6 separate regions of the Homo sapiens genome follow, and regions 1, 2, 4, 5 and 6 are each linked to region 3. The links are contacts of gene promoters, found by promoter capture Hi-C in blood cells and fetal thymus (Javierre and others, 2016). All regions are on one chromosome and are shown on one strand. Each heading gives the region's core, a stretch centred on a gene start or on the middle of the fragment in contact. The rest is flanking DNA. Distances are from core to core; before and after follow the strand shown. Region 1 overlaps SCRN1 (secernin 1). Region 2 overlaps WIPF3 (WAS/WASL interacting protein family member 3). Region 3 holds the start of NOD1 (nucleotide binding oligomerization domain containing 1). Region 4 overlaps WIPF3 (WAS/WASL interacting protein family member 3). Region 5 overlaps SCRN1 (secernin 1). Region 6 overlaps WIPF3 (WAS/WASL interacting protein family member 3).

Region 1 (3,921 bases), core at 1,402-3,901, 530 kb before region 3:
CTTCCTAAAGGGATATTTCACTGTGCTGCCAGGGAGAAGAAAAGCTAATACAACTAATCTATAGGCTGATTATTATAACAGGCTTATGTTTATAGTCAAATAATTACATGACAATTCATTTGACATTTCTCATTTTAAGCTTATGTAGCAAGACTCGGTTACAAGGCAGTGATTTACAAAGCTGAACCCTAAAACCTTAGGAGAGGGATAAAAGAACAAACCCACTAGAAGACTGAATTCAGCTGACTTTTCCTTTGGTCAATGTCATCTTCTCCAAAGAGAAGGAACAGAAGCAGGCACTCATCTTACCTTGAGGCTCCGGAACAAACAAAGGTGCTGTGAGTGCCTCTCAGAACCCCACGTTGTACACACTCGAAGGCCTCCTTCCTCCCTTCCACAGGTCCCTGGTAGCCCCCTGGTCACAATGCCTCATACAGACATTCCAGGCAGAATCCTGTTCCCAGGGCCTTTGCAGGGCCCCAACTTGCCCGTGCAAACATGTGCTGGGAGCATGTGAATACACAGCCAGCTGTAACAGCCCTGTCTTCGGAGCTTGTGACTTATCTTTTTTGATTTCCAGTGTACTCTTCTGATGTTCTGCCTGTTTGCATTCCACACTGAGGCCCTAGACTTGCACTTGCCCTCCCATGCTGACTTTGATGTCCTCTGGCAGAGTTGGCAACAGGACCTCAGCACTATCCACAGACCTAATTCTGATTTCACCCTCCTATCCCTTGTGCCAGGACCATGGGTCAGAGATACCCCTTTGTCCCACCTGATTATTCCCACCTGGTCTTCCTACCATGCCATGAGGACAGGGCCAACTGCTCCATAGTACATGGGCCGTGAATAACACCAGGGTTACACCCTTGCCCTCTGCAACTGAGAAATGCAGATGAATCCCATGTCACTGGGTGCAGAAGAGATGCCAGAGAGACCTGGGGCCACAAGTCACATGGCATCCAGAGGCCAATGTTAAAGCCATTCCCAACAGTCTCACCTCCTACATGCGGCAGATTCATGTGATTCCAGAAGAGGGCAGTGCTCTCTGGCCCCATGCCTAATTTCACTTTGGCTGCTACCCCTCTGCCTGGGCAGGACCAGGACAGGGAAGGGGAAGAAACTCAATGGGCCAAGGTTAGAGTTCCACTGTAACATCTATCTTCTGTGCAGTTCGAATTCTTCCAAAGTGTGTGCTTTGTCCAGCTTGCTCTGGGCCTGGGAATTAGATGCTCCTGAATTCAATTCCTAGTTTTATAGGAAAATCTTTCCCTGGGAGCCCATGACCTTCTCACAGGTATGTCAAGCTCACCCTGCCCGTTCCTGAAAAGTTAACACATCTCACTGAGAAAGATGGGTCACACCTGTACTTCTCCTGCTTAAAGCCCGTTTGTTTAGAAACTCTGCTTATCTTTTCAACATCTGTGCCTCCATGGATTAGGAGATCCCTGTCCTTTTCTATCTCAAATCAGGTAAAACTAGATTTGCCATGGATATATAATCACTGACTTGGGAAAAGTAATAAAAATAGGCAACACAGCCCCCTTAGAAAGGTGGGCCTAGTATTCTTATAGGACTCAGGTGCAAATAATCTTCCCTCCTCCCCACAATCAAGCAGTCTGCCAGGCCCTTCTGAGGTCAGGACCTTTTGGAAATTGGAAATTCCCTGCCTTCAGCCAGAGGGCTAGAAGCAGGAAGGTAATGCTATGAAGTGATTGCTTGTCCCCCTGGTTTCCCCAAAAATTCATATGTTAAGCCTCATCCCCAGTGTGATGGTATGGTACACGGGGCCTTTGGGAGGTGATGAGGTCATGAGGGGTGGAGGCACCATGATGGGATTAGTGCCCTTAAAAGAAGAGACACCAGAACACGTCCTCTTTCTCTGTTCTCTGCCATGTGAGGATACGGGGGAAGATGGCCGTCTGCAAACCAGCAAGCAGGCTCTCCCCAGACACTGGGTCTTCCGGTGCCTTGATCTCAGATTTCCCAGTCTCTAGGAATGTGAAAAATAAATTTGTGTAGTTTCAACCCCCTAGGCTATGGTATGTTTGTTATAGCAGCCCAAATGGACTAAGACGAGTGATAACACAGGTGATGGATGTGAAGGTGATCCAGGGAAAGAGCGTGTGAAACTTTTTGACTTATCTCCATCTCTCAGTGTCCCGAAATTCCTGCGTCATTGACAGGTGAAGTAAAATGTGCTCCACTACATAGAGGAGTGGCCTCTCTGAGGCTAGCAGGCCCTGGGATCCCTGGCTTAGCCACCTTCTAGCTCTGGGGCCTTGGGCAACTCCTTCAACCCTCCTAAGCTCCAGTGTCCTCACTCTCAAGGGGAGGAGACCTACTTCATTGGGTTACTGTGAGAGTTAAATGAAATAATATGTGCAAAGCATGTCTTACTACAGTGTTCAGGAAATAGTAACTCTGATTACACAGGTTCCTCCCGCCTACAAATGGTGACTGAACCTCCTTTTAAATCACCTGAGTCCTCACATTCACCAACAACCTAAAGACAAACTACAGACCTTTCCAAATTTTCACACTGGCCTTTTGCCAAGGACTTTTGTGATTTTTAACATGCTGAAGGTCTGATGGAATGTGTCCAGAATTATAAGATGTTCTGAAATATTGGAATTGACTAGGTTTTAGTGCCATTGTTAAACACAAATGGGACTAGCAAAAGTCAGCATGCAGGAAAAAAAAGAATAAAGTAGTTATGCAAAGGGAAGAAGAGGCAAGAAACACTGAAAGAATGCAGCAATCTGCTGGAGCCAGCTGCTACCAGCTTGGAGAGCAGATGGTTAAATTTTAGGGATTTTGAGCCAGTTCTGAAACTGTTGGTAGCTTGAAACCCCTCACAGTGGGAGTATTTACACCATGGAAATTGAAAAAGGACTCAAACAGCGCTGCCCCTTCCCTCCACCAGGCTGGTTATTAAACATTTACCAGCATACTTCTGACAAAGAGGTTCCAAACGCTTCATAGTTCTCATCCATGTTGAGGCCCAGAGGCATTATCATGTCTGACAGACCTTGGATTATAAGTGGCACCCTAGGACAGGAGCGGTGGCTCACACCTGTAATCCTAGCACTTTGGGAGGCTGAGGCAGGCGGATCACGAGGTCAGGAGATCATGACCATCCTGGCTAACATGGTGAAATCCTGTCTCTACTAAAAATACAAAAAATTAGCCGGGCATGGTGGCAGGCGCCTATAGTCCCAGCTACTCGGGAGGCTGAGGCAGGAGAATGGCGTGAACCCAGGAGGCGGAGGTTGCAGTGAGCCGAGATGGTGCCACTGCACTCCAGCCTGGGTGACAGAGCAAGACTCCGTCTAAAAAAAGAAAAAAAAAAAGGGCACCCTAACAACCAGAAAGTAATTTCCCCTTTCTTTCCTTCACTCTTTTTTTTTTTTTTTTGAGACAGGATCTCGTTCTGTGACCCAGGCTGGAGTGCAGTGGCATGATCTCAGCTCACTGCAACCTCCCCACCTGGGTTCAAGCAAACCTCCCACCTCAGCCTCCCAAGTAGCTGGGACCACAGGCGTGGGCCACTATACTGGGTTAATTTTGTATATTTTGTAGATACAGAGTTTTACCATGTTGCCCAGGCTGGTCTTTAACTCCTGGGCTCAAGCAATCCTCCTGCCTCGGCCTCCCAGAGTGCTAAGATTATGGGGCATAACCCACCACATCAGGCCCTTTTTTCCTTCTTTCAGACAGGGTCTCGATCTGTTACCCAGGCTGGAGTGCAGTAGTGCAATCATGGTTCACTGCAGCCCTGACCTCTTGGACTCAGCAATCTTCCCGCCTCAGTCTCTCAAGTAGTTGGGACCACAAGCATGCAACAGTGCAACCAGCTACAATTTGCATTTGTTTTGTAGAAACAGGCTTTTGCCATGTTGCCCAGGCTGGTCTTGAACT
Region 2 (4,223 bases), core at 1-2,500, 590 kb before region 3:
TGGAGGTATTCGTTTCAGAGATGGACACCAGGGGTGAGGGAGGCAGAGAGACTTGCCCAAAATCATGCTGCATGTAAGCAAGGGATCCCGGCCTTGATCCCCTGCCCTTACTAGCTCTGTGGCCCTGGGCGACCACTTGGCCTCTCTGTTCTCCCTTCTATTCATCTGTAAAATGGGGATAGATGGCAATAGTTGTTACCTCCTGGGTTTGTTGTTAAGGATTAAGTGAGTTCTTAGGTTTGAGGTGCTTGGAACAGGGCAACAGTGAGCTTGAGAGGGATTATTTATTCTTACTACCAACCTTCCAACTCCCAATCTCCTCCCTGAGGTGGAGGGGGCGTGAGTGTGGCTTGTTTCCAGAACCAGGCCTCCTTTTATATTTGCCCGCGTTTTCCTATCTGGATCCCAGCCAGAATCTTCGCCGGCCCTCAGTAAACTGGATTCCCACTCTGCCTTAGTTTTCGCAGGTTCTCCGGCTGACTCAAGAAAACTGAGGGCCTGTATTTTGAGCCAAATATTAAAAATAATTCCTTCACATATGCAGCACAGGTTATTTGAATTGAGCGTTCATGCCCCATGGCTGATTTCCTTGATCCCGCTAGTAGGAGGCTTCATTCAGTTTTAGTGCCCCTGTGAATGGAAAGTACCTCCACACGTCCACAGATACACCCACATCCACACAGGCAGACACACTCAAACATATGCACACTCATAACACACACATCCACATGCACACCCCCAACACACATATTCCTTTGTCTTTTAGAAAATCTTTTGATGCAGAAAGCTTCTTAAAAGTATTTTCTTGACTTAAAAATAACGCAAGCTTGTTGCAGAGCTAATAGACGGAAATTCAAACTGGCCAGGTACGGATGGCTCACACCGGTAATCCCACTGCTTTGGGAGGCCCATGCATGAAGATGGCTTGAGGTCAGGAGTTCTAGGCCAGCCTGGGTAACACAGCGAAACCCCATCTCTACAGAAAATAAAAATAAAAAATTGGCTGGGCATGGTGGCAGACAACTATAGTCCCAGCTACTTGGGAGGCTAAGGCAGGAGGATCGTTTGAATCTAGGTGTTCAAGGCTGTGGGGAGCTATGATTGTGCCATTGTACTCCAGATTGGATGACAGAGCCAGATGCTGCTGTCTCTGAGTAAATTAAGTAATTCAATCACCCATAATAACATCACCCAGAGATGAAAACTGCCATTTGGATAGGTTTCTTCAATTCTTTTTTCTGAATATATGTACACGTTTACATGGTTAATACCATTTTTCACATACAGTTTTGTGTTCTGTGTTTTATTTAACATTATGTTAAAAACAATTTTATCAAATTGTTAAAATGTCTTTATAAGCATGACAATATATTCCATATTCCTCATGTTAGATATCTAAGTTGATTCCATTTTTTGTTATTATGAGTAATATTTTAAGAAATACTTTTGTAGAAATTTTAATCCACGTTTTTGATATTTTTCTAAAAGTATTGGTGTCTTAAAGGGAATTCCTGGTGCAAAGAGCAAAGATATTTTTAAGCCTCTTGATTACAAGAGGTAAGGTTTTAATCATTCTCTTTTCAATTGACTGGTCACCATGAGGGCCAGCATTTGGGCTGATAAGCCCCTTCTGATATTTGTTATTTTCATCTATTTATGATGTGATGAAAAAGACAAAGCTTTTTTTTTTTTTTTTTTTTTTTTTTTGAGACACAGTTTCACTCTGCCATCTAGGCTGGAGTGCAGTGGCAGGATCTCAGCTCACTGCAACCTTCGCCTCCCAGGTTCAAGTGATTCTTGTGCCTCAACCTTCCGAGTAGCTGAGGTTACAGGCGTGCACCACCACACCTGGCTAATTTTTGTATTTTTAGTAGAGACAGGGTTTCCCCATGTTGGCCAGGCTGGTCTCGAACTCCTGACTTCAAGTGATCAGCCCACCTCAGCCTCCTAAGGTGCTGGTATTACAAGTGTGAGCCACTATGCCCGGCCAACAAAAACAAGGCTTTTGATTCAGAGGGCTATGAGTTCAGATCCTGGGTTCCTCACCCACTCCTGTGGAAACTCACACCACTTGGGTTTGTTTTTTATTAATACTGAATTTTTTTTATTTGACAAATGGGCCTACTAATAACACCTTTCACATAGGATTATTAGGAATATGAAATGAGAAATCTGCATAAAGGGCTTGCATGTAACTTCAGCTCCAGCAGCATTATTTCCTTACCACACAGTGGGGCAGCTGTTCACCCAGAAGAGGGGCTGCAGTCCTTTTACTGCATGTGGGAGCAAGTAAATTCCTCATAGATCCTTGTGCCCAGAAAGGGAAGACCAGAAAGGGAGAGGAAGGCAGTTGGGAGGAAGAAAAGAAGATGAGCAGATGCTGAAGGGACATGAGACACGAGGATGGCGGCTGATGACTGAGAATGCCTGCTGCAGCTGGGGCCCCTTCATCTGCTCCAGAGTAGTGAGCCCAAGGCCAGGATGGGGATTCATATCTGCCCTTCTTGTTTGCATCTTTGGATTTGAAACTTGGTTTGTCCATGTTCAAAATAAGGGCAATTTCTACTTTAGCCCAACATGGGGGGAAAAGAGAGAGGTAGTAGTTGTGAACATCTTAGCACAGATAGTAATAATGTAATTGTCATCATTTCAAGAAGCAAAGTGATGTTTGCAGTGCCACTGAAGAAATAAGCAGCAGTGGAACCCCTGCACTGATGTGCCAGGATAGCAGATTTTGGGTTGCCAGATGAACCATACAGGAAAGTATTGGCAAAGGAGATAGTGAGCCTCTCAGGCATGATCAGAGAAGGCTGGAGGAAGTAGGTTGGATTCAAGTTAGGCCCTGGAGGGCACGTAAGATTTAGGTGGACCGGAAAGAGAAACAAGCATTTGCAGTGCTGGAGAACCAGTGTGAGCAGGGACACAGGGGCAGAACAAGCCCCTGGCCGCTCCCTCTTCAAGCCTCCCTCTGGGCCTCTTCTACAGACAGCCCTTCCTGTTCTTACCACTCTCTAGTGATTCCCCTGCTTTGGGCTGTACCTGATGATGAAGGTTATCACCATCATTAATATTATTGCAGCAGCTAACATTTATTGAGGACTTACTACATGCCACTCAACTTAAATTCAACTCATTGAATCTTCTCAGTAACCCTGGGAAGTGGGTGTACTATTACTACTCCCATCTTACAGATGAGGAAACTAAAACACAAAGAGGCTATGCTACTTATCCCAACAGGAGAACTGCAATTCAGTGCCAAGCAGGTTGACTCCAGAGGTTGCCCTTTTACTCGCTGTATCATATTACATCTGAAGATAGAAATGCCTAATATCTCACATAAGGTTATAGCATCCACCATTCCCATCCGTGTTTCTGAGTACACCATCATCTTCTCTGTAAGGGGCCGGTGGGGGAAAGCTAAATCCACCTCCAGCACCCCCTGCGAGATCACCTACCACAGAGCTTTCAAGCAAGAGCCAGCAGGCCACAGCCTGGACCCCGACGCAGCAGCCTGGAGGTCAACTGCGAAATGGAAGCCTGCACATCATTGGTAAGTGGGTTGCACCCTCTGCCGGTTTGGCTGCCAGTAGGAAAGTGATTCTCCCAACCTCTGGAGAGAGAGTTTGCTGGCCACAGTGCTGCCATCTCAGGGTGCATGCTTCTTTCATGAACAGGGGCTCACTCCAGCACCAACCAGCCCATAGGTTCTGTTAAATAGGGTTCCTTTCAAGGCTTTCTGCATAGTTTCAAGGCCCACTGTCTAGCCTTCTAATTCAGATTAGAGAAAGGGAAGAAAAGCAGCATTTAAACTGTGTGAGTGTGTGTGCGTGTGCGTGTGTGTGCGTGTGTGTGTGTGTGTGTGTGTGTCTATGGAGAAATCAATGCATAAGCCTGAAAGAGTAGAATGATATGGATAAGGAGAAAGATACATAGAAGACTCACCAGGTAGAGGGACATTTTGAGTACAAGTATGGAGGTAGGAAGGAAAGTCACCTGGGGTCAGATGTGAAGCCGTGGAATCTTTCGATCCCTTCTGTGTGCTGGGCTAGTGTCTGACAGAGGCCCAGATCACAAAGCAGGGGCTCAGCCCATGAAAGGGCCACAGGAGCCCTCCCCTCCTGCCAACAGATCCCAGAGCAGAAGCTGTTTGCTTTGTGGAGCTCAGGTCCCACCCTAGACACAGGCCATGCTCCTCCATTCCCCAGTCATTCTGCCCACCTCTC
Region 3 (4,101 bases), core at 480-2,979:
CAGGTGGGAAAACAGGGGCTTGGAGAGGTCAAGGAACTTGCCCAAAGTCACAGCATAGAAGTGACAGAATCCGAGTTTTGACCCAGATTTGATGGGTTCCAAAGCGTGAACTTATTTCTCCACTCCACAAAAATAAAACCTACTCTTCTTACAATATTTGAAAGAGCCCTCTTCTACCACTCTGCTGTTTGTTTTAAACACAGCTTGCTTATCTGTCTGGCATATTCGGTAGAAGTCTGTACTTTGTCAATGCCTGGTTTGCCTGGATTTCAGCTACCTGGCCCCTGGCATCTAAGCCTGGGTGAGAACAGGGAATCCACTCCTCTCTAAGATGCATCGTGGAGTTACTCTTTTACTCTTCCCTGAAAGTGATAGTTCAATCTTCAACAGGGGCTTTGAGGGAGAACAAACTCGACCCTTTGGCAAGCACGACTTCTGGCTTCACCGTTTTTTTGTTTTTTGTTTGTTTGTTTGTTTTTGACGGAGTTTTGCTCTTGTTGCCCAGGCTGGAGCGCAACAGGGCGATCTCGGCTCACTGCAACCTCTGCCTCCCGGGTTCAAGCAATTCTCCTGCTTCAGCCTCCCGAGTAGCTGGGATTACAGGCATGCGCCACCACGCCCGGTTAATTTTTTTTTTTTTTTTTTTTAGTAGAGACGGTTTCACCATGTTGGGCCAGGCTGGTCTCGAACTCTCGACCTCAGGTGATCCGCCTGCCTTGGCCTCCCAAAGTGCTGGGATTACAGGCGTGAGCCACCGCGCCCGGCCCTGGCTTCACCCTTAAAGCAGAAAGGCCAGAAGTCATCAAGGCCATGGGTTTACTAGCTTAGCTTCCCCAGACTTAATTTCAAACACCAACAACCGAAATGTTTCCTAGAATGCAGAGCTAATGAGACATCAACCTCTGTCATTTCCTATGTTTTTCACAATGTGCCAAAACAACTGCACACATTGGAGGCGTTTTTGAATGTGATATTCAGGCGACCTTGCCAAGCATTGTCTCATTTCCTTACTTTGTGGAGCATGAAACCCAAGGGAAGTTCTCACCCTCTCTCCAGGACCAAGCAGGACACTGGGAGCTGCTGTCCCGTCTGCAGGCGGGACTCCATGAAGGCCCCTGTCTGCCCTTCCAGCCTTTGCCACAAACCCTCGAACGCTGGCTGCACACTGGAATCACTTGGGGAGCTTTTAAAAGATACGGAGGCCTGGGTCTGACTCCGTGAGATTCTGATGGAATTGATCTAGGGTGCAGCCTGGATATCTGGATTTTAAAAGCTCCCCAGGTGGTTCTAAGCTGCTGGCACGATTGAGAACCCCTGCGTTCGACCACAGTGGGATAAACGATTCCGCTGACTGTGAAGTTCATCCCTCTCAACTTTCGCTACATGCTTCAAACTCGCGGGTTTCTCCGCTTGGTTCCACCCAGAGCTCCTCCAGAGCCGCGCTGCGTTCCGCCCGCACGCAAATCCCGCCTCCCTGCGCCTCCTCACTCGCAGCGCCCAGGACCTCAGAAAGGGCCTGCCCCGCGCGAATCCCCAGTCGCTGGGACTTACTTGGCCACCAGGTTTACAGACTTCGCAGCCGCTGAGAGCTAGAGAAGAGCCCGGAGAGCGCCATGGTCCGGGGACGCCGGGGCCGGGAAGCGCCGTGGCCCGGGAGGACGCTGCTCCCGCAGTAGCGCGAGGGAGGGGCAGGACCGGGGCGGCTGCCTCGCGGGCCCGGAACGGGAACTGGCTGCGACTACAGCCGCAGCCGCGCCCCTCTGTTGGCGCGCCCAAGAGCCTGCCGGCTGCTGGGAGAGGCCGCCGAAGGGCGGGGGCGGTCAAGGCAGGGTCCCACGGTGCTGCCATTCGCCCGGGTCTGGCGCGGGGGGGCGAGAGAAGCTGCGCGCAGAGGGACGCCCGGTGCGAGAGGGTGAGCCCCTGGCCACCGCGCAGGGCCGAGTGGACAGGCCCAAGTTCGCCCAGAGGTGACACACTTGGGAATTTGTGGTGCCATCGTGCCAGGTCCCTCCTCGTAAAAGTGCCTACCCAGCGCCTGCAACCAGAGCCAAAGCCTGGACATGATAGGGAAACTCTTGTTAAAACGCGACACGTGGTCCTGATGAAATGGAGGTTAACGTAATCAAATTTAAATTACACTGCATACATTTCAATTTATACTTTTTAAAAAATGTAAGCTTTTCTTCCTATCCTTAAATTTGTTCTTGGCAGTGTACATTTTATGTTCTATGCATATGCTCTAATAGGTTGTAAAAGAGTTTTAACATGCTAATAAATGTCCCCAATAAAATAGTTTTAAAACGTTTTGAATGGGGATCGTGTCCATAAGGGATATCATGCTACAGAAAGTTGTCACTTACTCACACTGAAGAAGTACATTCAATCATATAGCCACTGATGCTTGTGAGTATTAAAATTCCCATCAGAGGCTGCCCTCTGAGAAACAGAAAGTATGTTCTTAAATCAAAAGTGAAAGTGCAAACTAAAGTTGATAGGATCAAATGTGCCAACTTGTGTCAGGCCTCTGAGCCCAAGCCTGCATGTATACATCCAGATGGCCTGAAGCAACTGAGGAATCACAAAGGTAGTGAAAATGGCTGGTTCCTGCCTTAACTGATGACATTACCTTGTGAAATTCCTTCTCCTGGCTCAGAAGCTCCCCCACTGAGCACTTTGTAGACCTTCCACCCCCCCGGCCCCCGCCTTGCCCACCAGAGAACAACCCCCTTTGACTGTAATTTTCCACTACCCACACAAATCCTATAAAGCTACCACACCCCTAACTCCCTTTGCTGACTCTTTTTTTCGTACTCGGCCCACCTGCACCCAGGTGAAATAAACAGCTTTATTGCTCACGCAAAGCCTTTTGGTGGTCTCTTCACACGGACACGTGTGACATTTGGTGCCGAAGACCCGGGACAGGAGGACTCCTTCAGGAGACCAGTCCCCTGTCCTCACCCTCACTCTGTGAGGAGATCCACCTATGACCTCGGGTCCTCAGACCAAACAGCCCAAGGAACATCTCACCAATTTCAAATCGGGTAAGCGGTCTTTTCACTGTCTTCTCCAGCCTCTCTCACTACCCTTAAATCTCCCTCTATTTCCAATTCCAGTTCTTTCTCCTCTCTAGTAGAGACAAAGGAGACATATTTTATCCATGGACCCAAAACTCCAGCTCCGGTCACGGACTCAGGAAAACAGTCGTCCCTTGGTGTTTAATCACTGCAGGGACACCTGCCTGATTATTCACGTACATTTCATTGGTGTCTGATCACCGTGGGGATGCCTGCCTTGGTCATTCACCCACATTCCCTTGGTGGCAAGTCAATTGTGGGTCGCCTGCTTTGGCTGCTCAGCCACATTGCAGCCCAGGGCTGCTCACCACCCCCCTTCTCCGGGTCTCTACCTTCTTTTCTCTGGGCTTGCCTCCTTCACTATGGGCAACCTTCCACCCTCCATTCCCCCTTCTTCTCCCTTAGCCTGTGTTCTCAAGAACTTAAAACCTCTTCAACTCACACCTGACCTAAAACCTAAACGCCTTATTTTCTTCTGCAATACCGTTTGACCCCAATACAGACTCAACAATGGTTCCAAATAGCCAGAAAACGGCACTTTCAATTTCTCCATCCTACATGAGCTAGATAATTATTGTCGTAAAATGGGCAAATAGTCTGAGGTGCCTGATGTCCAGGCATTCTTTTACACATTGGTCCCTTCCTAATCTCTGCTCCCAATGTGACTCATCCCAAATCTTCTTTCTCTCCTGTCTGTTCCTTCAGTCTCCACCCCAAGCTCTGAGTCCTGTGAATCCTCCTTTTCTATGGACCCATCTAACCTCTCCCCTCCTCCCCAGGCTGCTCCTCGCCAGGCTGAGCCAGGTCCCAATTCTTCCTCTGCCTCCACTCCCCCACCCTATAATCCTTCTATCACCTCACCTCCTCACACCCGGTCCAGCTTACAGTTTCGTTCCGCAACTAGCCCTCCCCTACCTACCCAACAATTTCCTCAAGGTTAATGCTCCTTTTTCTTTATCCAACCTCTCCCAAATCAATTAGCATTTAGGCTTTTTTTCATCAAATATGAAAACATAGCCCAGTCCAT
Region 4 (3,797 bases), core at 188-2,687, 610 kb before region 3:
AGGCTGTGTTGTGATGAAGAAAGCCAAACTTGCCTGTACTCACTGCTCAGCTCTGTACTTGGTAGCAGTGGATGGTCTGCTTCACCCTTGTGCCTCATCTGTAGACTGGACATAATACTCATAACTAGCACCTACATTATAGAATTGTTCAGGGCCTTTGAAATGAATTAATACATGCAAAGCAGTTGGGACAGTGCCTGGCACATACAAATGCCTTCCCATTTCTTTTTATTATTGGTATTGTCATTGTCACCCATTGCATGTTGCAGCCGTCTTGTTAATTCCTTTACCCAAACGCCAAAGTCACCGCTGTGTGCACTCTAAGTAGAGAGAAGGAGCCGGGACTCTGTAAAAGACTGGTTATTTCAAATGAGAAAGAGAGCAAGGAGCCATAGGGACCTTTGAGGTTTCGAGCCTGGATGAATGGGGAGAAGCCCTTAACAGAGACTGAGGGCCAGCAGCACTGTGAGTTGGAAATAACAACGGTAATGTTATTTCATTAGTTTGCAAATTAATCTGCCAGGCGGGGGCATGTTTCTTTTTGATAGTACTTTTTGTCTAGAAGAAATAGAAGATATGAAACCTCACACTGTTCTAACTAGGTATTATTTATTAGTTATTCCTGGTGCCATGCCCTTGACTCCTGGCTCTGCCCCCGCCCCCTCCACACCCCAGCTTTTTTTTTTTTTTTTTTTTGAGTTCATGAGATTGTTCTTTCTAGGTCCAACTTAAGTTTGAAGATCAAATTTTCTCGTAATTTAAAATTTAGTCTTAAAAGCCTGAGAATATTGGCATCATTGTAAAGGAGAGAATGGTGCGGAATTGAATTCACATCTCTAGGGACACAGTGGCCAAAGGATAAAAAGGGTGAAGACATTAGGATGAATCAGGGCTGAAATGTGACCTCAAAAAACAGCCACTTCTCTTCCCACACCTGCGTGCTTTGTGGGAGCAGATAAATGTCAGGGGAGGCAGAGTCGAAGATCCAGGGACTAAGGTTTCTATAGAGTTCATGTCAACAAAATACTGATAGGTTGCTCACAGTTTTTTTAAGCTGGATTCACTGGTAAGAGAAAGTGGAGTGGCTTAGTTTTTGTGCTCAAAAATAAGAAGCAAGACCAATATGTAGAAGCTATAATACTGGGCAAGATATGAGCAGTGCTGTAGAGAATTAAAAACGATGTGCCTTGGCAGCGGAAAAGCAGATCACACAAGGAAAAGTTTAGTTGAGAAAGTGGAAAAAATACATTTTCTAAAGTAAACTGTATTTGGTGTCAAGAGCTTCACGGGGAGATGAAAGGTTTGGCAGATATGGCAGAGTGGGGTGTGGGGCATCCCCAGAAGAGGAGGTGGGCTGAGCACAGGCTTGGAAGTGGGAAAGAAGAGACAGGGGATAAACCCAGAGCAGCTGAAATGAGGCTCCAACTGGCCAAGGAAAGATATCTTGGGACAGTATGGCTGAATTCCTTGATTCGGTAGAGATTAGTGGGCCATTGAAGCATTTTGAGAAGAGGAGTTAATTAGCACTTTAAAAACGATCATTTGAAGGCTGTCTCAAAGAGAGATGAGAGTCCAATTTTGGAGACCAGCTAGGAGGCTCTGGGTCTAGAGTATAAATAATGAGAAGTATATATATATATATATACACACACATACACAAATATATTAAATATATGTACATATATGTGTGTATATACACACATATATACAGTGATGCATCGATTAACAAAGGGTATATGTTCTGAAGCGTCTACATTGTTAGGTGATTTTGTCATCATGTGAACATCCTAGAGTGCACTCACACAAACCTGGATGGTAGAGCCTACTGCACACCTAGGTTATGTGGTATGGCCTGTTGCTCTAGGCTACAAACCTGTATGGCATGTTACTGTACTCAGTGAATCCTGTAGGCAACTGTAACGCAGTGGTAAGTATTTGTGTATCTAACCATATCTAAACATAGGAAAGGTACAATAACAATATGGTATTATACTGTTATAGGACCACCGTCGTATGTGTGGTGCATTACTGACTGATACATCATTATGCAGAGAATGTGCACACACGCACACACATGTACATACACCCCCCAAGCACAACATCCTGGCAATCTTACCCATACTTCATCCCCACTCTTTTTTTTTTTTCATTTTTTGAGATGGAGTTTCACTCGTGTTGCCCAGACTAGAGTGCAATGGCGCAATTTTGGCTCACTGCAACCTCTGCCTCCCGGGTTCAAGAGATTCTCCTGCCTCAGCCTCCCAAGTAGCTGGGATTACAGGCATGTGCCACACACCTGGCTAATTTTGTATTTTTAGTAGAGACGGGGTTTCTCCATGTTGGTCAGGCTGGTCTCGAACTCCCAACCTCAGGTGATCCGCCCACCTTGGCCTCCCAAAGTGCTGGGATTACAGGCGTGAGCCACTGCGCCCCACCTGTATCCCCACTCTTAACACCATGCCTAGCACAGAGTTAGCACTCAAATCTTAAATAATATTGGGTTATATTACTATTCAAGGGGTTCGCTTTACTGATTTCTATTTACCATCTTTTCAAGCCCCTTCTTTCCAGAAGTTTCTGTGAACTACTTTTACCAGTTAAAGTAACCATCATGTGCATTTAAAGACATGCTTTTGTCTAGTGTCTGATCCACCATTTATATGTTTAATGTCCTTTTGAATTGCTAGTTATGGGGTAGTTGAGTCTCTAATCCCTGCCTCTGAAATCCATCTGTATCTGCCCAATTTACACATGTCCCAAATCTCTCTTTCTCCATATTTCTTTCTATTCTTCCCATCCCTAACATTTATTCTTATATTTTTCTGATTATTCCCTACTAAAGAGACTTAGAATTAATACTGGAATCGAAATTCTCATTGTTGCTAAAAATTAGTACTACAATATATTGCCAGATGTGCAGTTTGTAGTTAGGAAGGGATTGGCACACAGTAGAACTGCTTGATAACACTGGTTTGGGTAGGAAAAAGCTGGCATTTATACATAAACTCATGGTACCCCGTGGAAATCTGGGCAAGCTCAGCAGGCAATACTAATGAGGCCTCTGATTTTCTTCCACTGGGTGAGATGGAAAGTCATTGCAGATTTTGAGTGGAATAACATGATCTGGGTAGTAGATGCTCTGCTAAGGGTAAGCATGTTGCTCTAGGAACACAGATAGGGATCTTCATCTGGACTTCCAGGATCAAGAGGCCTCTTGGGAGACAGCCAAGAGGCAAGTGTAAAAAGAGCAGAGATCAGCTCAAGCCAAGGTCTTGAGGTGAGCACCAGCATGGAAGGCTCAAGGAGTGGAAAGTCTGGGCTGGTCACTAAGGGCCTTATGCATCGTGAGGGGATTTGAATCCTCAGGATTCAATTCAAATGGATGCAGCAAAGAATGACACAATTAATGATACATCTTTTATAAAGATTACTCTGTCTGTTGTGTGGGGGAGGGCAAGGAGACATGAAAACCACATAAGGGAATCCAGAGGTGATGAATGCCTGCTTAAGGCATCATGGCAGCGATGGAGAAGAGGTGACAGATTTCTGAGAAATCAGGAAAAACAACAGGAGTTTGCAATGGATTGGCTGTTAAGAATAAGGAAAAGGGATGAGTATGAGGTGACCTTTACATCCCTAAGCAAAGATGTGACAGCTGCAGATAGTAACCAAGTTATGAAAGTGGATGAGATAACCTTGATGGGTATGCTTGTTTTATGGGTGTAAAGAACAGGACCAGACTCATAGCCCCAAAAAAAGACCCCCTCATTTTGCTTTACCTCCAGGGAAGCAAAGGG
Region 5 (3,775 bases), core at 1,155-3,654, 550 kb before region 3:
CGTGCTTTGGGTGGTTTTCTTGTTTGAATTGATGACTTATCACTTTATTAACCAAAGGTGTGGGACTGGGGAGAGCTGCACTTTGAAGGATTACGACTTCTTTTTTAAAACTAGGAATATGAGTCTGGGCGCGGTGGCTCCTGCTTGTAATCCCAGCACTTTGGGAGGCAGAAGCAGGTGGATTGCTTGAGCTCAGGAGTTCAAGACCAGCCTGGCCAACAGGGTGAAACCCCGTCTCTACTAAAAATACAAAAAAAAAAAAAAAAAACCCTAGGAATATGAGAATATTTTCTAAAACTATGTTTGTACTATGGTAAAACATATGTATTATAACATAAGATTGACCATTTAAAAACTTTAAAATGTATAGTTCAGTGCATTAAGCTCATTCACAATGTTGTGCAACCAGCACCACCAGCCAACTCCAGAACTTTTTTGAAACAACATATGATTGTATCTTTAATAAAATGTTGCCAGCAAATAACAACTTTTTACCCCCAAAAGTACATAAGGAATTTTACACAATATATAACAGTTATCCCTAACGTACTGCATATTCCTATTATTCCTACGTAAACAGTAAATGTAAGTAAGATACTCAGCCTGCTGAATTCCAAAATAACATGAGAAGCAGAAGCTTTGTCTTATTTGGTTTCAAGAGCCTGGGCAGGAAAATGGACACCAGCCTTCTAGGAAAGGCCCCAGGAACCTGGTCTCTGGGAGAAGCCCGGTCACACTGGATGGGTGGGGGTAGGGTCTAGCTTGACATCTGCTTCCCTGCCTCCTTCCTCGCTGACCTCGCCCGCCCGCCTCCGCCTCCGCCTCTGTGGCCCTCATGCAAGCTCACCTGGTCACTTTCGATGATGGCACGTGCCCACTCGTGGGCTTTGTACAGCTCATGCCGGCGGTCTGGTTTCTCCTGGAACCGAGGCTCCTTTTTGGCAGGGTCGTCATCCCCAAAACAGGGAGACTGTGTTTTGGGGACAAGTTTTACGTCATCAACAAAGATGAAAGGCTTGAATATGGACCTGGAGAGGAAGGAGAGGCACTTCAGCCAGGCAGAGGCTGGGACCCGGGAACACCCAGAGACTGTCCTTTTATTCAGCAAACATTTCCCAAGCCAACTTATGGTGGGTGGTGGGTGTGGGTGACGGGTGGGTGGGTGAGTGCCAAGAGAGACATAACTGCATGTTTTAGTCGCTATTTTAGCAAAACTGCAGCCATTTACAAGCTGCAAATTCCTCTACTTACAGCAAAGAGACATCAAAACAGACTTCCTTTGTTCTGAACCATTTGAGAGGACTCTTTTAGCAATAAAAAGTGAGGCAAACAAACAGTGTTCTGAGAAACGGTGCAAGGAGCCATCTAGCTGAGCGAGAGAGGTTTGCCTTTTTTTTTTTTAATACCGTGGTCTGAGAAGCAGCCTTTGGGAAAGGAAGGGCCTTTTGGTTTGGGTTTGTTTTTAGTTTTTTTCTGAGGTTCTACCTTACTGAAAAATCTATGGAATATCTCTGACAGACCCAAGGAGGGGACAGAGTAAGAAAGATGACAGAAGAGGCCTTGGAGGGTGCACACCACACAGAAGTCTGGTTGTGTGAGAGAGCTAGCACAGGGCACAGCAGGTAGCTAATGCCCCCCAGCTCTCTTCAATTCAGTTCTCTCGGCAGGATGGATGTTATCTTCGGGAAAATGGCTGTGCGTATGCCTGCATGTGTGTGTACTTGTACAAGTCTAGGATACATCACCCCCCCACCCACCCACCCACACACACACACACACACAAGAGCCACGCATATAAACAGCTGTGGCCTGGGATCCCAGGCCAACGGGCTAAGGGACCACTATGGCCAACTGTAACGCCGGGGAGAGAGCCTTATCCTACCCTCCCCACATCCAGAGGAAACACTGCTGGATCAGAGGGCTGCTCCTGGCAGGCATGGGCACCTCTGCGTCCCAAGGATTGCCTGTTTTCAGCTGTACCATGGGGCAGCACCTGCAATAACAGCAGGAGAGAAGGAACTCCCCATATGTGCCCCATATGTATAGGTCAGATTTGTCAGATTTGGACATTTTTTTCTCCTCTCAACAGGTGCACTGTGGCCCACCTCGGGTACCTCAAGTGGGCTAGAGGTGAGCTAGGATGTTGATTCCCTCAGCCCTGGGGCATCTGGAGCTTGAGGAAGCCAGGGCAGCCTTGCCAGTATGGCACACAGGTATGAATATTTTCAGGTATGGGCAAGGTATGGTGGCTCACACCTGTAATCCCAGCATTTTGGGAGGCTGGGGCAGGTGGATCACTTGAGGTCAGGAGTTCGAGCCCAGCCTGGCCAACATGGTAAAACCCCGTTTCTACTAAAAATAAAAAAAAATTAGCCGGATGTGGTGGAGTGCTCCTGTAATCCCAGCTACTCAGGAGGTTGAGGTGGAAGAGTCGCTGGAACCCAGGAGGCAGAGGTTGCAGTGAGCCAAGATCATGCCATCGCACTCCGGCCTGGGTGACTGAGCGAGACTTTGTCTCAAAAACAAACAAACAGACAAAGAAAAACTATTTTCAGGTATGCCATGACCTGAAAAGGACTGGGAGCCAATAACCCTTGCCAGCCAATTTTGTCCTCGGACTTGCAGCAACAGTATCGGCTGCAGAACCTCAGGCCCCACCCTGTCCTGCTGAATCAGAATCTGCAATTTTAACAAGATCCCTGCGGATTCATAACATATCCCAGTCTGAAGAGCACTACTAAAGACACAACAGTAATGAGAAGTACTCTCTTAGGTTAGCTTCCTGATGTTGCCATGGGACAGGAGTCTCAAGTGAGAAAAGAAAGACACTGATCACAATATGCAAAATTGGGGCCCAGACTAATTTAATTTGAGTATTAAAAGCAGTGAGACCTTCGTACCCCAAGCTGGTGAACTGAGTGGTACTAGTTGAGGACTAGTGTCAGGTACTCTGCTGTTCTCTATAGATGACGCAAATATAATTGGAGACTGGGCCCATCTCCGATCCACTGGGAAGCATAAGGCATGCCAGGCTGCGCCCACCTGCTCAAAGTCAAGCCCTGCCAAGAACCTACCCTCCCTAGCCATCATCAAAAGAAGACCCCCTAAAGACATAGGGGAGCTACCCTTGCACAGAAGGAACACACACTTCCACTTCCTACAGCCCCTTGAAAATAGATGATTGCTATACCCCTCTACTGAGTGTTGAATGAATGGCTGTTGAATATGAAAAAGGAATTATTGCAAAACCTAAAACTGTTTAAACCAATTTTTACTATATGAAATTGAATTCTTTAACTGGTGAGTCAGTTGATTCTGCAAAAGGGCTGCAGATGGAGGGCTCGCTGCAATGGAGCAGTGGGGAGGAGGAGGGCCAGGAGAGAGCACGCCTAGCCATCCACAACCAGCTGTCTCCAGGCTACCTCTGGGCTCTGACAGCAGGACTGTCTCACTACAGACAGGCGTCCTACCCTTGAGGGCCAGACAGCACTCGGGGTTTCCTGGGAAGTCAGCGCATGTCACCTCAGCAGCATCAGCCTCTTTCACTGGCACAGAAACCCTTCAGTGGTAGACAGGCCCGGGGCTCCCACCCAGCAGCCCAGAGTCAGCTCGGTTCACATCTTCTCAGCTCCAGGGCTCTGCGCTGGGCAGAACTGGGCAAAGCCAAGACTCCCACCTGGGCTGGTAGGCTTCACGGTGGAACTGGTGCAGGCTCAACACCTGGCAGGCAAGGGAACTGCGACCACGCCCTCCTGCGGAGCCTACTGAGCAGGCC
Region 6 (4,371 bases), core at 828-3,327, 570 kb before region 3:
AAAGGTTTTTATAATGACTTATATATGTTGTAGAAAAGTTGAAAAAATATTTCTGAAGGGAGTTTTTTGGCCAGGCATGGTGGCTCATGCCTATAATCCCAGCACTTTGGGAGGCCAAGGTGGGAGGATCACTTGAGCCCAGGAGTTCGAGATAAGCCTGGCCAACATGGCAAAACCTTGTCTCTACTAAAAATATCAAAAAAATTAGCCAGGCATGGTGGCAAGCACCTGTAGTCCTAGCTACTCAGGAGGCTGAGGAATCAGAATTGCTTGAACCTGGGAGGCGGAGGTTGCAGTGAGTTGAGATAGCACCACTGCACTCCAGCCTGTGGCAAGACTCTGTCTCAAAACAAACAAACAAAAAAGAGCGTGTTTTTTTTTTTTAATGGTGATTCTACCACTTAGAAGGAAACATTTCAGAATATTATTATGTATTTCTCAATGAATTTTTAAAATAGTTGAGATCATTCTATTTATACAAATTCATTTCTCCAAAATGAGTCTTTGTAAATATTCAGTTTCCTGCAGGGTGCAGTAGCTCATGCCTGTAATCCCAGAATTTTGGGAGGCAAAGGCGGGAGGATCACTCGAGTCTGGGAGTTTAAGACCAGCCTGGGAAACATAGTGAGACCCTGTCTCTACAAAAAATTTTAAAAGTTAGCTGAATGTGGTGATGCACACCTGTGATCCCAGCTACTCAGGAGGCTGAGGTGGAAGGATCACTTGAGTCCAGAAGGTTGAGGCTGCAGTGAGTCATGATCATATCACTGCATTCCAGCCTGGGAGACAGAGGGAGACCTTGTCTAAAAAATAAAATAAAATGAAAAATAAAATAATAAAAAAACAGGTGCTTAGTACTCCATCATGTAATACTGAACCCTACGTTACCTAAAAACCTATGTTGAACACAGGTCATTAATTGTTCACTATTATAAATAGTCTATAATGAACATTCATGCTTTTCTGTTGCTTTTTAAATAGCACAGCAATCTGGATTGTTCTGGAGACTTTGGGACATGATTATTTAATGCCTAGTTCATGACAGAAACAGAATAGATAGGTGTCCTACCAGTGCAACAGAGGAAACACCATTTGGAATAACCAGTTGAAGGGAGAGTTCTGGAACACCTGGGAATGGGGATTTAAGCTTGGGTAGACCAACCAAAACATGTATCTGTATATATACAGATGTATGTATGGAAATACCAAAAAGAAAAAAAAAAATTGAAGAGATAAACATCAAACTTTTAGCCATGGTGACTCTGGGATAGAAAATTGGGATTGGGGGAGGAACAAGAAGAGAAGAGGAACTTTGAGGTTTTTTTCCATTATCTCCTTTATTTTTTGAATTCTTAACTATAAGAAGATATTCATATGTAACTTGTGTAATACTTAAGCACAGCACACTTGAGAGAATGATTTGGTTCCTCATGGATGGGAGGCCTGATTTGTCAGCAGTTACTCATCTTTTACTTTTTTAGCCAGCCCTGGTATTGCTGGGCACATTGTGGATAATGGATGAGCATCCCTGGAGATGGTATATTTGGGTAAAGAAGTTCTAACGTGCATTTATTTGATGGGCCTTAATAATTTGTTCTCTTCTCAGAGTATTAGACATGACTCTTCTGCATCCATGGTCTTTGACATAGAAGATGGGAGTGGTGGAAACAGACAGTCTAGGGCCAGGATCCTGAAGGTTTCATTGTTTTAAGTGCTGATTTAGAGAAAGTTTCTCTGTGAAACATGCACACCCGGTCCCTGGGCCAATAGATAATGAGATTGTTCTTTTTTCCTTCAGGCCGTACACCTGGTCCCTGGCTCCAAGCGGAAGCAGTCGGGCAGAGCTCTGATGACATCAAAGGCAGAAATTCTCAGGTAACACAAGCCTCATGTCTCTGAATGTAAAACCAGGAATTCTCCTCAGGAGGCACAGAAATGGTAAGGGTATGCTTTCTCCTAAACAGCTTTATATTTTTCCTCACACTCCTTTTCCTCAGGGAAAGCCATTTGGTGGACCTTTTTTCAAGCCAGAATGAAACACTCACCATTTCAAAATCTGAAGTGTGACAAAAGGGGGCTTCCCTGGAATCACCACTACATATAGAAGCAAGTTTAGCAACTCTGACATTCTGCAACAATCATGCCAATCACTTCCCATTCTTCCTTGGTTATGATGGCCTGTGAGAAAAACTGAATAACATGTATAAAACATAATTCAGTATTCTCTCTCATCTGTAGAATACATGGTTTCTTTTAGCACACTTGGAGTTTTTTTTTCCCCCACCAATGTTATAATTGATTTTGGCCAAATTTAGTCACAATTCAAGTACTAGTACCCACAAGAAATGAACAGAACTAGAAGGCAAGCCAGACAGCTGCTTTTGTGATAAGACAGTCCTTGAAGAAACACCTTTAATCTCACCCAGGGCATCTTGAACCGAATTATTTCCTAACCTGGACACATTTCCCTGCACATGACAGGGTCTCATCTTTAAAAGCCCTTTGTTTCTTTGAAAACATGTATTCAGTCGAACAATAATCTCCCCATTTCTGAATACTATGTGACAGACTACAGAGTCACTTGCAGTTAAACCAGGCAATTCTGCAACTGTGTGGAACATCAAGGAAAGTGACCTGAGAAGGAAGAGGCTAGGTTCCTGGAAGCTAGGATGAGTTCCTCAGAGGAAAAAGTACATCCTCTAGCAGATAAGTATCCCCCTTTTCTAACCACAGCTGATGCAAGAATTGCAGTAACGATTCTTAGACGATCACAGGTTCAAAACTGTGTGTATGATTGTAGTTAAGGAAGAAGTATATATACACAGGAAAAAAGACAGGAAGAATATACACAATATTGTTAACAGGTAGAGAGAATTCTGAGAAGATGGCAGAGGAGAAAGCACCAGGAATCTGTGGACAACAATTGCATTGGCAGAATCTGTCTGATGTAATTTGTCTCATGTATTTTGGAACTCTGGGATTCATTAAAGGCTTGAAACTTCCATGGGAAAGCTTGGACAGTAAATTGTGCTCTTAGTACAATAGTAACTACTCATCCTCCACCCCCCACCCCATGGCAGGCAACTGGGCACGTGTTCCTGGAGCAGCTTGCATACAGCTTGCAGGAGCCAAGGTGGGCACAAAAAAAAAACCCTGTCCTCCAGATACTGGGGAATCTGTTCTCTGATTGGTTATTGCTGCTTCTGATCACAGAGGTACAAATAAAGAGATGGGCAGCCATTGTTGCACCTCCTCTTATTGTTGTAAATCCCTTTCCCTCTGGCTGAAGTGGCCTCCTGGGGATTTCAAGGGCTGGTGGCCATTTTGTTCCTCCTGTCCTTGCTCTTTTTTTTTCCCCATTTGGGAGCCAAACATTAAAGATGAACATTCAAAGGCTACTACATATATGATGAAAATTAGAAAGTGACCACATATGCCCAGGGAAAGGCACAGGCTCAGAAAAGACCAAGAAGACCTTAAGATTACACCTCAGACTGATTCTTAGCACAGAGACAGCCTACAACAATCAAAAAAATAAAATGAACAAAAACAATAAGAAAAACCAGCAAACCCTGGGGGACAGAGAGAATTGATATCTAGAGTTACCACATTATTAGATTAAAATGTAGAGTTTTCAACAACAACAAAAATCACATCATACAAAGAAACAGGAGAGTATGGCCCATTCAAAGGAAGAAAAAAAACAAATCAATAGAGACTGCTCTTAAAAAAGACCTGATGGGAGATCTACTAGACAAAGACTTTAAAACAACTGTCTTAAAGATGCTCAAAGAACTAAAGGAAAATGTGGAGAAAGTCAAGAAACGGATGTATGAACAAAATGGAAGTATCAATAAAGAGGAAAAAAACATTTTCTGGAGCTGAAAAATACAACAAATGAAATGAAAAATTTACTAGAGGGAATAAAAGGCAGACTTGAGCAGGCAGATGAAAGAATCAACAAACTTGAAGATAGGACAACTGAAATTATTGAGTCAGAAGAACAGAAAGAAAAAAAATTAAAAGTGAACAAAGCCTAAGAGACCTGTGGGAGACCATCTAGCAGATTAACACGCTTATTGTGGGAGTTCTAGAAGGAGAAAGGAAAGAAAAAGGGTAAAAAAGACTCTCTGAAGAAATAATAGCTCAAAACTCTCCAAATTTGATGAAAGGCATGAATATAAACATCCAAAATGCTCAGTAAAGTAAGATGAACTAAAAAACCACACCAAAGAAACACTATAATCAAATTTTCAAAAGGCAAAGAGAAAATCTTGAAAACAGCAAGAGAGAAGTGACTCATCACATACAAGGGATCTTCAGTAAGATTATCAGTAAATTTATCATCCAAACTTTGAAGGCCAGAAGGTG

What was found. Contacts are between HindIII fragments. The CHiCAGO score rates a contact against its expected background, and 5 or more counts as called.
Region 1: a fragment that was not itself captured here is called in contact with the fragment with the promoter of NOD1 in region 3 in 2 of 17 cell types (neutrophils and total B cells); the score reaches 10.4 in neutrophils.
Region 2: a fragment that was not itself captured here is called in contact with the fragment with the promoter of NOD1 in region 3 in 2 of 17 cell types (total B cells and naive B cells); the score reaches 7.7 in total B cells.
Region 4: a fragment that was not itself captured here is called in contact with the fragment with the promoter of NOD1 in region 3 in 1 of 17 cell types (total B cells); the score reaches 5.1 in total B cells.
Region 5: a contact is called between a fragment that was not itself captured here and the fragment with the promoter of NOD1 in region 3, in 3 of 17 cell types (naive B cells, total B cells and neutrophils). The highest score is 6.8, in naive B cells.
Region 6: a contact is called between a fragment that was not itself captured here and the fragment with the promoter of NOD1 in region 3, in 1 of 17 cell types (neutrophils). The highest score is 5.6, in neutrophils.

Annotation. Positions count from the first base shown.
Region 1 is chr7:29,945,980-29,949,900 of GRCh38, forward strand. The region is part of intron 3 of SCRN1 (secernin 1); the gene reads right to left. Among named protein-coding and RNA genes, the nearest start is that of FKBP14-AS1, 41 kb to the right of the region's middle. The HindIII fragment of the contact is 5,029 bases long and covers 138-3,921 here.
Region 2 is chr7:29,884,668-29,888,890 of GRCh38, forward strand. It overlaps WIPF3 (WAS/WASL interacting protein family member 3), which reads left to right. Exons shown (of 9, transcript NM_001080529.3): 6 at 3,401-3,550. Among named protein-coding and RNA genes, the nearest start is that of WIPF3, 80 kb to the left of the region's middle. The HindIII fragment of the contact is 853 bases long and covers 825-1,677 here.
Region 3 is chr7:30,477,055-30,481,155 of GRCh38, forward strand. NOD1 (nucleotide binding oligomerization domain containing 1) reads right to left here and starts at 1,730. Exons shown (of 14, transcript NM_006092.4): 1 at 1,552-1,730. RefSeq lists an enhancer at 1,226-1,970 and a silencer at 1,619-1,858. The HindIII fragment of the contact is 7,069 bases long and covers 1-2,175 here.
Region 4 is chr7:29,866,892-29,870,688 of GRCh38, forward strand. All of the region lies in intron 2 of WIPF3 (WAS/WASL interacting protein family member 3), which reads left to right. Among named protein-coding and RNA genes, the nearest start is that of WIPF3, 62 kb to the left of the region's middle. The HindIII fragment of the contact is 6,783 bases long and covers 1-3,797 here.
Region 5 is chr7:29,925,605-29,929,379 of GRCh38, forward strand. It overlaps SCRN1 (secernin 1), which reads right to left. Exons shown (of 8, transcript NM_014766.5): 7 at 848-1,028. Among named protein-coding and RNA genes, the nearest start is that of FKBP14-AS1, 61 kb to the right of the region's middle. RefSeq lists an enhancer at 3,735-3,775. The HindIII fragment of the contact is 3,538 bases long and covers 636-3,775 here.
Region 6 is chr7:29,902,488-29,906,858 of GRCh38, forward strand. WIPF3 (WAS/WASL interacting protein family member 3) reads left to right here. Exons shown (of 9, transcript NM_001080529.3): 8 at 1,799-1,875. Among named protein-coding and RNA genes, the nearest start is that of FKBP14-AS1, 84 kb to the right of the region's middle. The HindIII fragment of the contact is 1,865 bases long and covers 1,146-3,010 here.